Regions from separate parts of the Homo sapiens genome. Here all the other regions are linked to region 3. The links are contacts of gene promoters, found by promoter capture Hi-C in human tissues and cell types (Jung and others, 2019). All regions are on one chromosome and are shown on one strand. The core of a region is centred on a gene start or on the middle of the fragment in contact, and the rest is flanking DNA. Distances in the headings are between cores, read along the strand shown.

Region 1 (4,045 bases), core at 1,340-3,839, 34 kb before region 3:
AAATAACAGTGCCAATCCCCAAAGCACTGTCCACCCTCAGCTGTGGTGGCACCAGGGGGACTGTGGCCATGCTCTCCCTCTCTTTGGCGCTTGGGGGAATTTCTGTCTCCTAAACCTGGAGTGGTTTCCTGACAACTCAGACGTGGCATCACAGTCACACTTTCCCTTTTTGGGTATGTGGGTGTGCTGCCACCTGGCATGTGGCATAGTTAGATAGAGGTTTCACCTCATCTTATTCCACATGCCCCTTGTCTTATAACTTGCTAAGGATATGGATGGCTGGACAGACAGACTCTTACCTGGGCAATGGGTATGTTCTCAGCTGCAGCTGAGTTCACATTCATGGAAATTCCTCCCGGAGATTATTTATGAACCAGACCTGGCGGTGCCAAATTAAGGCACTTAGGATAAACTGGGGCCAGGACTTGAGAGTTGGTGGGAGCTAAGTCATACTCTTGGGGTCGGCACTGGAGGTTCAGCATTTGCTGTGACTCCTCTCTGATTCCTGCCATCCTGGCACCTATGTTCTGGACCAGTTACAAAGAAACCATTTCCCCTTAGCAGTGTTGTTTTCATGACTGCATCTAGCTACTACCAAACCACAGAATTTGGCAGAATAGGGAGAATGAGACAACTGAAAATGCTTCAACTCTTTTAATGGCATGTCTCTATTGTCAGGATTTTTTGCAACTTTGCTTCAAGTGCTGCAAGGGGAAAGTCTAGCATCCCACTTTCTATATTCGGATTTCTGATCTTCTAAAATAAGTCCCAGCTCCACTGTGCCCTGATGTCCAGGACTTGGTCTCCTAAGGAGAACACTGAGAGGCATCCAGACAGCATAAACAGCTGACCTGGGCGAGTGGAGTAAACATGAAGACAGCAAATATGGGCGGAAGCCACCTAAGATTGCCTAAGAATGAGGACCCAGTCTGCTCTGCAATTTAAATTTTATTAAAAATGTTGCAGTGCCATTTACAAAAACCCCAGAAGGGAACAATCCATGTGGATTCCTAAAATCCACCCCAATTTAGCTGCTAGGTTGAGTAAGGGGGGCAGATCTGGGGTTTGGATATGTAGGAGCCACTCTGAGCCCCCCTCTTCCCCGCTGAGGGGGTCCTAAACGCCAGTGAGTCCAGAGGATGACCGCCTCTGCCCACCAGGCCTGACCTCAGACAAATATGACACCCTGGGCATCTTCCTTCTCCTTGAGAGAATTTCCCCAGGGCTCCCCTGGCTGCGCACCCTTGGCTGGTTTTCCTGCTTCCCAATGACTTCTCAATGACTCTTTGCCAGGTCCTCTCTTCAGCCTTTTCCAGCTCATCTCCCTGTAGCCCGCGGTGCCACCTACCTACCCTGTGCCGATGACCACTCAGCTAGCAAGCTGGACACGCACAGACCCTCTGCTGGCTCCTCACCCACCACGTCTGTGAACAGCCCTGCCGCGGCTCACCTGGCCTTGCCCCACACCTGGGATCTGTTCACCACCTCCTCCATGAAAATCAAAGCATCAACAAGTCCTACTGATTCTTCCCCCTTGTCACCCTGGACCAAGCTACCATCCTCTCACCCAGGCCACTTCAACGATTTCCTAGTTGCTTCCCCACATCCTTACTGGGCTATTGCAGCAGTCACAGGGTCTTTCAGATGGGGAACTGATTCTGTGACAGCTCTGCAGGAATTCTTCAGTGACCCAGCTCCCGGGGCACAGACCAAAGGCTTTTGCGTAGCTCATGAGAGCCAGCATATGCCAACCCCCGTTTAGTCTCCGTCTCAACTCTGACATCTCCCAACTCTCTATGTTCCCTCGTGACTGGCCTTCTTTGAAGTAGAAGCTGTTCTTCATGAGCTACAGATTTTAAAGTTTGGATCCGGATTCATTCTGAAGAAAACTGAAAACTAAGAACATCCATGCTCCACCACAGGGACAATACAGCCTCAGGTCCCAGCCCCCAGGCAGCCTCCGAGCCACAGATGGAGACCTAGAGCCAGGGTGAGGGTGGCATCCAGAGAGGGCCAAGGGAGCTCAGTCGGGCTTGTTTGGGCTTGGGTTTCCTTCGCTGCATCTCTGTCCTGTCTTTCCCTGTTTTCTTTCCAGGGGTTCCTTTAAGCCTTTTTGCTACGCATAGGGTCTCTTTATTATGTGCGACTTCATTGCTCCCCGGGCTACCTATGCCACAATCTACACTGCAGTGAAACAAGCCATCAGATAGCCACACCAATGAAAGTCCGCAAAGCATAAAACTGCTCTCCTGGCTGGGCGCGGTGGCTCACACCTGTAATCCCAGCACTTTGGGAGGCCGAGGCGGGCGGATCACGAGGTCAGGAGACCAAGACTATCCTGGCTAACACGGTGAAGCCCTGTCTCTACTAAAAATACAAAAAATTAGTCGGCGTGGTGGCAGGTGCCTGTAGTCCCAGCTACTCAGGAGGCTGAGACAGGAGAATGGCGTGAGCCTGGGAGGTGGAGCTTGCAGTGAGCCAAGATCATGCCACTGTACTACAGCCTGGGCGAAAGTGTGAGACTCCGTCTCAAAAAAAAAAAAAAAAAAAAACCTGCTCTCCCTGGATCCCACGGATCTGCTTTGTAAGCAGCAATCCTCATGAAATGTCTTCAATCCAGTCATTCAACAAGTCATGCCCGAGTACGCACCCTGCAGTAGGCGCTGGGGGTGGCAGGGAAGCAGCCAGAAGAAGCCTGTGTTCTTGTGAAGCTCACACTTGACCTAAAGATGAGAGGCAGATCATGAGCTCAATGAGTGAGTTCTGCAGATAAGAGCTGTAGGAAAGTTAGCACAGGGTCAGGGGGATTGGAGTGCCAGGGGGCTGAGATCATGAGCTCAATAAATGAGTTCTGCAGATAAGAGCAGTGGAAAGCTAGCAAAGGGTCAGAGGGACTGGAGCGCTGGGGGGCTGGGGAGGCATTCCCATTGGGGGATTTTGGGGGTGACGCTCATTGCTTCTATGAGAACTCTGCATCCCGTATCAGAGCAAAAGTAGACGAGCTTCTCCTGAGCCCCTGGTCTATTTTTACCGCGTGGACACTGTGAGTCATGCTGCTGATTGTGTCTCCCTCTCAGCACTGCTGCTGAGCACACAGCCAGCTCTAGACACCAAAATATATTTGAGGTGCTCACCTCCCTCTTGGTGTGATCTCATTTTTCCTGATCTTTTTCCTCCACCTTGTTAGGATCATCTGTGCATTTAGTTAGCTGGTTATATTGCCACCTGTCCGCCCTGCCTTGCGTGATAAGTACCGTGCAGAAGGAACGCATCCCCAGCTATATTTCCAGGCATTACAAGCCGCCTTCTGGCAGGGGACGCCTGCCTTCCCCCACAGTCCTCAGGAAGGAGCAACAGAGAAGAAGGAATGAGAAGAATGAGGGCACAGTCTGCTTCCCAAGCTCAGCTGAAGACCACAAAGCTTCTGAGACCCTGACCATGAATCTGTCCATTCACGCATCCCAGATAAAGGGCCCTTGAAACTTGGAAGTGTGATGGGCTTCATGCTATGACATCTTGAATGATCACTGAACATAATTGTGCCAAAGTTCGTATCTACTTAATTTCCCAGAGTTTAAAGCAGAATTAACATAAATGCAAAGACAAAACTCCCACGTCAGCGCTCTGCTTTCCAGACACGTCAGCAGGCACTGTATGAATCAGTACTGTCACTCTTCTCTTCTTCAGTGACCTTTGTATTTTATTTCCTTTAACAGAGAGGACAGCCCCAAGGCCTTCACACCATCCTAACCAGAAGCCAAATGGCAATGCACTTGGAGGATGTGCATTTGATCCAGAAAAGCAAATTAGCATGTTCTTAACAAAGATTTGAATGGGACATCCATGGAATGACACTAACTCTTAAAAATCACTAAAATAGCTTGCTTAAAAGTCACTGAAATAGCTGCCAGGGTCAAATAAATGATTGTTTCAAAGTCATTCTTTCCCAGAACTCTGCAGGGAAGATTCAAGGGTGAGGATTCTGAGAGATTCTGTCTCCCTGACATTCATTCCTGTCTGTGCCCGGGGTATGATTCATCCTGGA
Region 2 (3,594 bases), core at 856-3,355, 52 kb after region 3:
CTGATATGTCCTACCCTTCACATGCATTTCTGCTCGGCAGTCATCACAGAATTTCTCTGGCTTCTTGGTTAGTGTCTAGCTTCCCCACTGGATTATAAACTCCATGAGGCCAGGGTCATATTTGTCTTCACCCTGCATCCCAGTACCTAGCAGAGCCACAGCCCACTGAAGAGGCTTAATTAACCCATAGCAAATGAAAGATCCACAGAGCTGTGGATTCTAAGGACTGAATGTAACTGGGTACCCTAGTTCCCAGCTTCACTTCTTTTAGGGCAGAGTCATCACCAGGGCACTGTGATGGTCACTTGCAGCCACCCTCCATGGCATTATGACAGGCACAGACCAACTTCCGAGCCCGGTTAGGCTCTGTGCCTGGAGGTCAGCCTTAAACTCACAAAAGAACCACTTGGATTGAGGCCCCAGCATGTGGGGCTCTGGTTTCTCCAGGTGGGAGGGAACAGGAGAGGTTGCTGGGGCCCTGGGGCCGTGGCCTTGATGTCAGCCTGGCCCAGCTCCTGCTGCCACCCTCCTGCTGACAAAGTGCAGCTCCATCCAACCCCTGGAATCACTTTCAGAGTATCTGGGGACACTCTGATGAGTGAGGACAAGAAAAATGAGGGCAAAGCTTGATGCTCTGGCCCAGGAATTCAGGAAAAAAAGGAAGAAAACTGTTAACTGAATCCCAGATTGGGTCCTAGTTTAGGAATGCAAAGAAAAGCCAATGGTGACTCCATAAAAAATTCACTTAAATGGAGATTACAGAATTCTAATTCCCTGACAGATAGAACAATATTTTTCACTCTTGCAAAGCCTAAAACAAAGGGTTTCAGAACTTTGAAAGAATGTGCTTTCAGATAGAACAATATTTTTCACTCTTGCAAAGCCTAAAACAAAGGGTTTCAGAACTGTGAAAGAATGTGCTTTATCTGATTTGATTCTCCCCCAGCCAGGCATTATGATATTCATGTGAGTAACAGCCCAGTGGAGGCCGAGAAGGTTAAGGAGTTTCCTAAAATAACACAGTCAAAGAGGAGGTCGTGAAGGCCCAGGCCCCTGCCTCTGTGCACATTGTTTATGTCTGTTGGACAATTTTCCAGCAATACCCCATGTTGCACATGAAGGAGAGCAGATGGTATTTTTTAAGGCTAAATTTCAAGATTTTAATCTCTATAACAGGTACCATTTCTATCATATTTTTAAAATTTATTTATTAATCAGAAAATATGCTTATTGTAAAATATTTGATAAATGTTGAAAAAATATAATGAAGAAAATAAAAATCACCTATAACCCCATTCATTATTCATATAATAGATAACCAGTATTCATAGTTTGGTTTAACTCCTCCTAGTAATTGTTGGTAGAGGGAAGTTAAATCTACACTTTGCCATTGTATTTATAATAAAGTAAAGGGTTTTCAGATAGAATTGAGTAGAGGTTGGCAAAATATGGCTTGTGGGCAAATCCAGCCTACATCCTGTGGGCCTGTGTTGCCTACAAGCTAAGAATCATTTTAAATTTTTAAGTGGTTGAAAAATCAAAAGGATAACATTTCATGACATGTGAAAATTACATAAGATTCAAATCACTGTTCGTAAATAAAGTTTTATTGGAACACAGTCATGTGCATTCACTTACATATTGTCTATGGCTGGTTTTGTGCCACAGTGGTAGAATTGAGTAGTTGTGGCAGAGACTGTAGCACTCTAAAGCCTAAAATATTTACTATCGGGCCCTTTAAATAAAGTTTGTCAACATCTGGTTTAGAGCAAGCATTTTCCAATACCCTTAAATGCTTTTCAAAAATAGACAGCAAAAATTATTCTTTATATAGTTTTGTGGAATGAATTCTACTCTTCTTCTCACTCATTCTCTTGCTCTTAAAATATTATTTTTTTTACAATGGTCTTAAAAAATTCAATCCTATTTTAGGTATCAATGAACTCTCCTCTAGAAAGTGATGCTCTAATTTAGGATGGACAAGGGGCCCCAGAAGAGCTGGGTAGCAATGCAGTATCCTAGGCCTCATCTCAGAAACCAGTTGGTGGTGGGCCTGCATGCAGATGAGATATTTATGGTGAATGGAGTGAGTTTCCATTAGAAGCTGCTGGTGTGCTGCTCCTCTGCTGACCGCACACATAAATCAGCGTGGAGTGCCATTCCAGAAACACTGGACGTGAATGTCCCTGGCTCCGGAGATAAATGTGCTTGGGCTCTGATGCCTGGGACAGACAATAAAGGGCGGAAACCCTCGGAGCTCGGTTCCTGATAATTCTCAGAGCATGCCACGTATCAGAGTTTCACGCTTAGACAAAAACTCCCGCCCGCACCTGTGTCTTCAGAGTCCACATTTGCAGTCTTGCTTGCTGAATGACCACCTTCTCTGTTCATCTGACCCCCGGGGTGTTATAGAAGGCTCAACATTTCTCTCTCTGCCCCTGGGACACTTGAATTATTTTAGTGAGAGCTTGTTGCTCTAATATTTAATATGCAGAAGTGTGATTTTTCTCCTTCTGTTAATATAAAAAGGAGTTTTGAGCAACGAAGACTTTAAAACACGACCCACTCTGATGCATAACCAGCTTCTTTCCAAAGACCTAACAGTTCAAACTGGGAGATAAGGCATGGTGTGGTGAGCTGAATTCAAGTCCTAGCTGTAAGAATTTGGGCAAATTGCCTAATCTGTAATAATGATAATAATTAGCACCATATGTCTATGCATCCATCTCATTGCAATGATAAAATGAGGCATTACAGTGAAGTGTTTAAGAATCGTCCTAGGTCAGGTTCCCTGGAAGCAGAGCTTGAGTCATGATTTATGGAGGCAGAGCTCTCAGGAGAGAGCCACAGGATAGTGAGGGACACATGCCAGGGAAGGGGAGCAGCAGAGTGGAGACGTGGAATGTCAGCTTCATCCCACGTCCATGGGTGCTCCGGACTGTGAATGATCTCACAGCAGTTGCCCATCCAGAAGCAAAGGGGGATGAGCTATCAACCCCTGTGTCAGTCAGTTGTTGGCTTTGGGCCCCTCCTGGGGAGGATAACTTTCCTGAATGTCTAGAAGGGGTTCAGGTTAGCAAGGGCAACCCAGCAGGGAAGTTTGCTTACCCCACAACAGCTGGGCAGGGGTTCATGAGCCCCATAAAGGCTCCCCAACGACATCTGCTAAAACAGTCGGTGGTACAAAGGCAGGGTTTAATAACAATGAGATTAAAAATGGGAACAACAACAACAGGGAATGATTGACCCAGGAGGCTGAGATGATCGCAGATCCTAAGTTAGGGATATTAGCAAGAACGGTATTAGCAAAATTTTCCAAATGCATTTCAATTTGAGTGACCTGCTGATGAATACAAATAGCTTAAGTTACCTGTAGGTGAATAAAAATAGTCCTCTTGCATTTGTGTCATGCTTCAAAGTTGATGAAGTACTTTTAAAGCTTGTTTATTAGGACAGCAAAGCATAGCACATCATACTTTTCTTTCTTTTTTTTTTTTCCTGAGAAATGTGCACCTGAGGAAGGCTGAAGGGAAGGAACTCAAACTGGAAAGATGAATGGGTTATGATTCCCTGAGCCTCTTTCCTGGCTTCTTG
Region 3 (3,686 bases), core at 576-3,075:
GCTTCCTCAGGGCCCACAGGCCTCATACCTGTGGTGTGGACCTCCAAAAGAACGGGCCACACCACCGCCAAACACAGAGCACGCAATTCAACTAAAAATTCGACTTCAGTTTCTTCCTGTCCGCGCCAGAACGGACATCAGACTGCCCCCCGCCCGCCTCCTAGCAGCTCCTTTTCACTTCGGCTGCTGCCAGGATTTCGCGACCTAGACCCCTCTTTGAAGACCACTTCCGATCCCCGACGCGGCAGCCCTTGAGGTCGCAGCCTAGCACGGAGAAGTTGGCCGGCTCTGGGGGCTATGAGGCTGCTCACCCCACAGGCGCAGGTCTACGCAGCACACACACCACCTCCTTCTTTGGACTCAGACCAAACACGCTGGGCTGTAGGAGGGAGACGGACAGATACACGGACTCGCGCGCGCACGCCTCACCAACTGATTCCAACCAGAAAACGGAGCCACTGTGTAACGCCCAGCCCCCCTCCCCTCGACACCCCCAATCAGCCAAGCCTTCGGCCGGTGTCTGCTGCACTAAACACCAGGACGTGGCCAGGGAAGGCGCAGGCATCGGTCCGAGCCAGGAGCGCCGCGGCGCCAGCGCATCTGACGTCGCAGGAGGACTGTGCGCACCTGAAGTCTGGGTGCCAAGCGCCCAAGCCTCTGCGTGCAACGAAACCCCCAAAGGAAAACAGGACTACCAGAAGACCCCTTCCTCTCGTCTTTCAGAAACGCCAAGCGGCCCCTCTGGCCGCCTCCTCAAAGCTCGGCTGCCAGAGCCACTCTAGTAGGGTCTTGCAAAAAGCGCATAGGGACAAAGCCCCTTCCCTAAGAAAAGTGCCCAACTCATCCAGTGAGCCATTCCTTCCTCCTCACTGCCCAGAGAGTGCACATGAAGAGGCAGAAATCACGACTAGGAAAAAGCGAGATTCAAATTGGAACCAAAAAAGCGTATGTGCTCGCTCCCATCTCGGCGCCAGGGCTGTGGCTCCCAGGGCTGCAGGCTGTCGCGGCTGCCAGGGGCCAGACAGCTTTTGAAGGCAGGTCTTGTCCTGGCTAGAGGAAAGAGGCTCCAGGAGTCTCTGCTTCCGCCACGGTCGCCCGTCGGGATTCCCCATCCCAAGCGCGCTTGCACCTTGCCTGCCGCTCCGCTCGGAGAATTAGTCTGTTTCCCTTCCTACTCCCAAACAGACCTAGGTCCCCAGCTCCGTGGCCGCCCGGCTCACCAGCCCTGGCTGGTCTCCTTCGGGTCACTCCGAGGGGCAGCCCGAACCCGCAGAGCCTTGGCCCGCCGCGCGCCCTCATGGCCCTGCTGGGCAGCCTGGCTCCGCTACGCTCTCAGTTCTCGGTCTCACCAGCTCCCATCGAATTCGCACAGCAGCCCCTTCGCGTCTCCCGGGGTGGCAAGGCACCAAGGTGCAGCCCAGGCCAGCATCGACCCCTTCCTGGGCATTTTCTCTGCCGGCTCAGCTCCCCCTCCCGCCCTGCGACCCCGTGTCTCCCAAGTCTCGTCGCGGCGACCACCCGGACTTACCGCGGGCGCCACGCCGCCGCCGGGTCTGCGCGCTCCGAGGCGGAGCCAGGACTAGGACACCCGCCAGCGCAGGGCAGCCTCCAGCTCCCGCCGCCAGCTCGCGGCCCCTGCCGCGACCCCGCCCACTGCGGGCCCCTCCGCCCGCCCCCGCGGCCGGGAGGTCTGGACTTACCTCCGGGACAAGGTGACCCGGCAAGTGCGCCCAAGCGGCCGCCCGCGACTCTCCCGAGCGAGCGAGCGTGCGGGGCGGTGCGGCGCCCGCCTCTGCTCCTCCGCTGCCAGGCTCTCTCCTCCTCTGCCCTCCCCTCAGCGCCGCTCTGCTCCCCACGCCTCTCCCCGCCCTGCGCTCTCCGCCTGCGCCCCCGGCTGCCCCGAGCGCCGGGCGCGGGGCAGCGGCGGCAGCCCGAGCGGCGGGGAGTCGGGAGCTGCGGCGCCGGGGCGGAGCCCAACCCTCTCGGCCCCCGGGAGAGGAAGGGGTGCGGGGAGACTCTCGTCGCGCTCGCCTGGCCGGCAGGCTGGGCGAGGGGCGCCCTGGGGCGAGCCGCTCCTCTTCGCTTGCCGAGCCTGCCGACGCGCGTGCTGGAGGCAGCGGGCGCGGGCCCCGGGGGAGGAGGGCAGGGAAGAGAAGGAGGGCGCAGCCCGCGCGAAGGTGGCCACCAACTTTGGCCCAGACCAGGGAGGCCCTAGCGGGGGATCGCGTCCAGATGGTGGCCCGCGGCCAGTGTCTGACAATGTGAGGGCCACAGAGGCTGGGGGCGGGGGATAGCTGCGGGGGACTAGGAGGACAGGAATTTGCTGCCCGACTAGAGGAAGGGATGGCTCCCCTCGGTCCTAAAGGCCTCCCCAGGCTGCGGTTCGGTTTTGAGGTTAAAAATGACCCAATTTATGGATCCGGCGAATGTTCAAGTCCTGACCAGCTAAGCCCTGGAGGAGCAAGCGGGCGCGGAGTTCAGACTCCAGAGACCCCCTCAGCCCTGAGCCAGCCTGTTGTTGGCCCATGGCGGGCCCGCCCCAGTTGGAATTGGAAGGAAACTAGGGCGGTGGTAAGACAGTCTGCGTTCTAGGAGCGGAGGAGGTGGTGTTTGCAGTGTAGATTTCATAGAGAATCAACTCTGAAAAAAAGATTTACCAGAAAGGGGGTCAAAAGTTATTTAGAAAAGCATCTGTGCGCCCCCGTTTCAACACTAGGCAGAGGCCCCAGTCCTGCCACCCGCAGGCTGGTACACTGGTGGTCAGAGAAGGTTAAGCTCCAGAGTTCCATGGCTCCCAACCTTCCTAGAGCCCTCCCTCCTGCCTGGTAACCCACCATTGCGCTGCGTCTTGCCCAGGTGTCCTGGTGGGCAGGGGCAGGAGTTAAAGGTGGTGCCAGGAACAAGAGGTCCTTCCTATATTCCTTTCAGGGGACGTGGCTTCTAGGGAGCCTCCGCAGCCCAAAGAGAATGCTGAAATGCAGAGTGCCAGAAGGAGGCATTTGAAGGAGGCGCGGATGAGTGGAACCAGTACTATCACCTGAATTCCATCCCCGTCTTCATGTCTGCAGCCCCGCGAGACACACCTGATGTTTCTTCCTTTAGGTCCCCAGAGCTGCAAGGCTGTGGTCTGGAACACTCAGAAACGGGCACTGTTCATTTCTCCCATCTAGCAGAACTTCTCAACTTGGAAGAACATGCCACCACACTTTAATAAAGCAGCTTACCTTTCCGGAGTCCTTTCCTGAATAAAGCAGTTTCCCATCTAAGCCATTAGGTTGAGCAGATACTATTAGACCCATTTGAGGTGGAGAGTCATTGATCCCATTTATCAAATGAAGAAATTGAAGTTTAAAAAGGGTAATTGAGATTGTGTAGCCACCCAATGTGCAGGAGTAGCCTGAAGCTCGGGTTCCCTGCCTCTAAGTCACTGCTCTTTCACTTGCCCAGCCTCTGGATTGACTTTTGAGGCAGATTTTGTTTTGACGAGAGAACACCTGCCTGGGCTGCAGCCAGGACTCGCCTTTGTCTCCTGGGTGCTGTTTGAATTTAATCGCGCCACTGCATTCCAGCCTGGGCGACAGAGTGAGACTCCGTCTCAAAAAAAAAAAAAAAAAAGAAAGAAACAGAAGGTGGACTCTTCCCCCATGACACACACACACACACACACACACACACACACACATCTT

What was found. Contacts are between HindIII fragments. The study calls those that stand out against the background at their distance.
Region 1: a contact is called between a fragment that was not itself captured here and the fragment with the promoter of SYNDIG1 in region 3, in 1 of the 25 tissues and cell types used here (dorsolateral prefrontal cortex).
Region 2: a fragment that was not itself captured here is called in contact with the fragment with the promoter of SYNDIG1 in region 3 in 1 of the 25 tissues and cell types used here (liver).

What each region holds. Positions count from the first base shown.
Region 1 is chr20:24,502,464-24,506,508 of GRCh38, reverse strand. All of the region lies in intron 1 of SYNDIG1 (synapse differentiation inducing 1), which reads right to left. Among named protein-coding and RNA genes, the nearest start is that of SYNDIG1, 35 kb to the right of the region's middle. RefSeq lists enhancers at 1,797-2,296, 2,297-2,798. The HindIII fragment of the contact is 5,316 bases long and covers 1-4,045 here.
Region 2 is chr20:24,416,222-24,419,815 of GRCh38, reverse strand. No RefSeq gene overlaps it. Among named protein-coding and RNA genes, the nearest start is that of SYNDIG1, 52 kb to the left of the region's middle. The HindIII fragment of the contact is 4,189 bases long and covers 11-3,594 here.
Region 3 is chr20:24,467,768-24,471,453 of GRCh38, reverse strand. It overlaps SYNDIG1 (synapse differentiation inducing 1), which reads right to left and starts at 1,825. Exons shown (of 4, transcript NM_024893.3): 1 at 1,701-1,825. The HindIII fragment of the contact is 8,441 bases long and covers 1-3,686 here.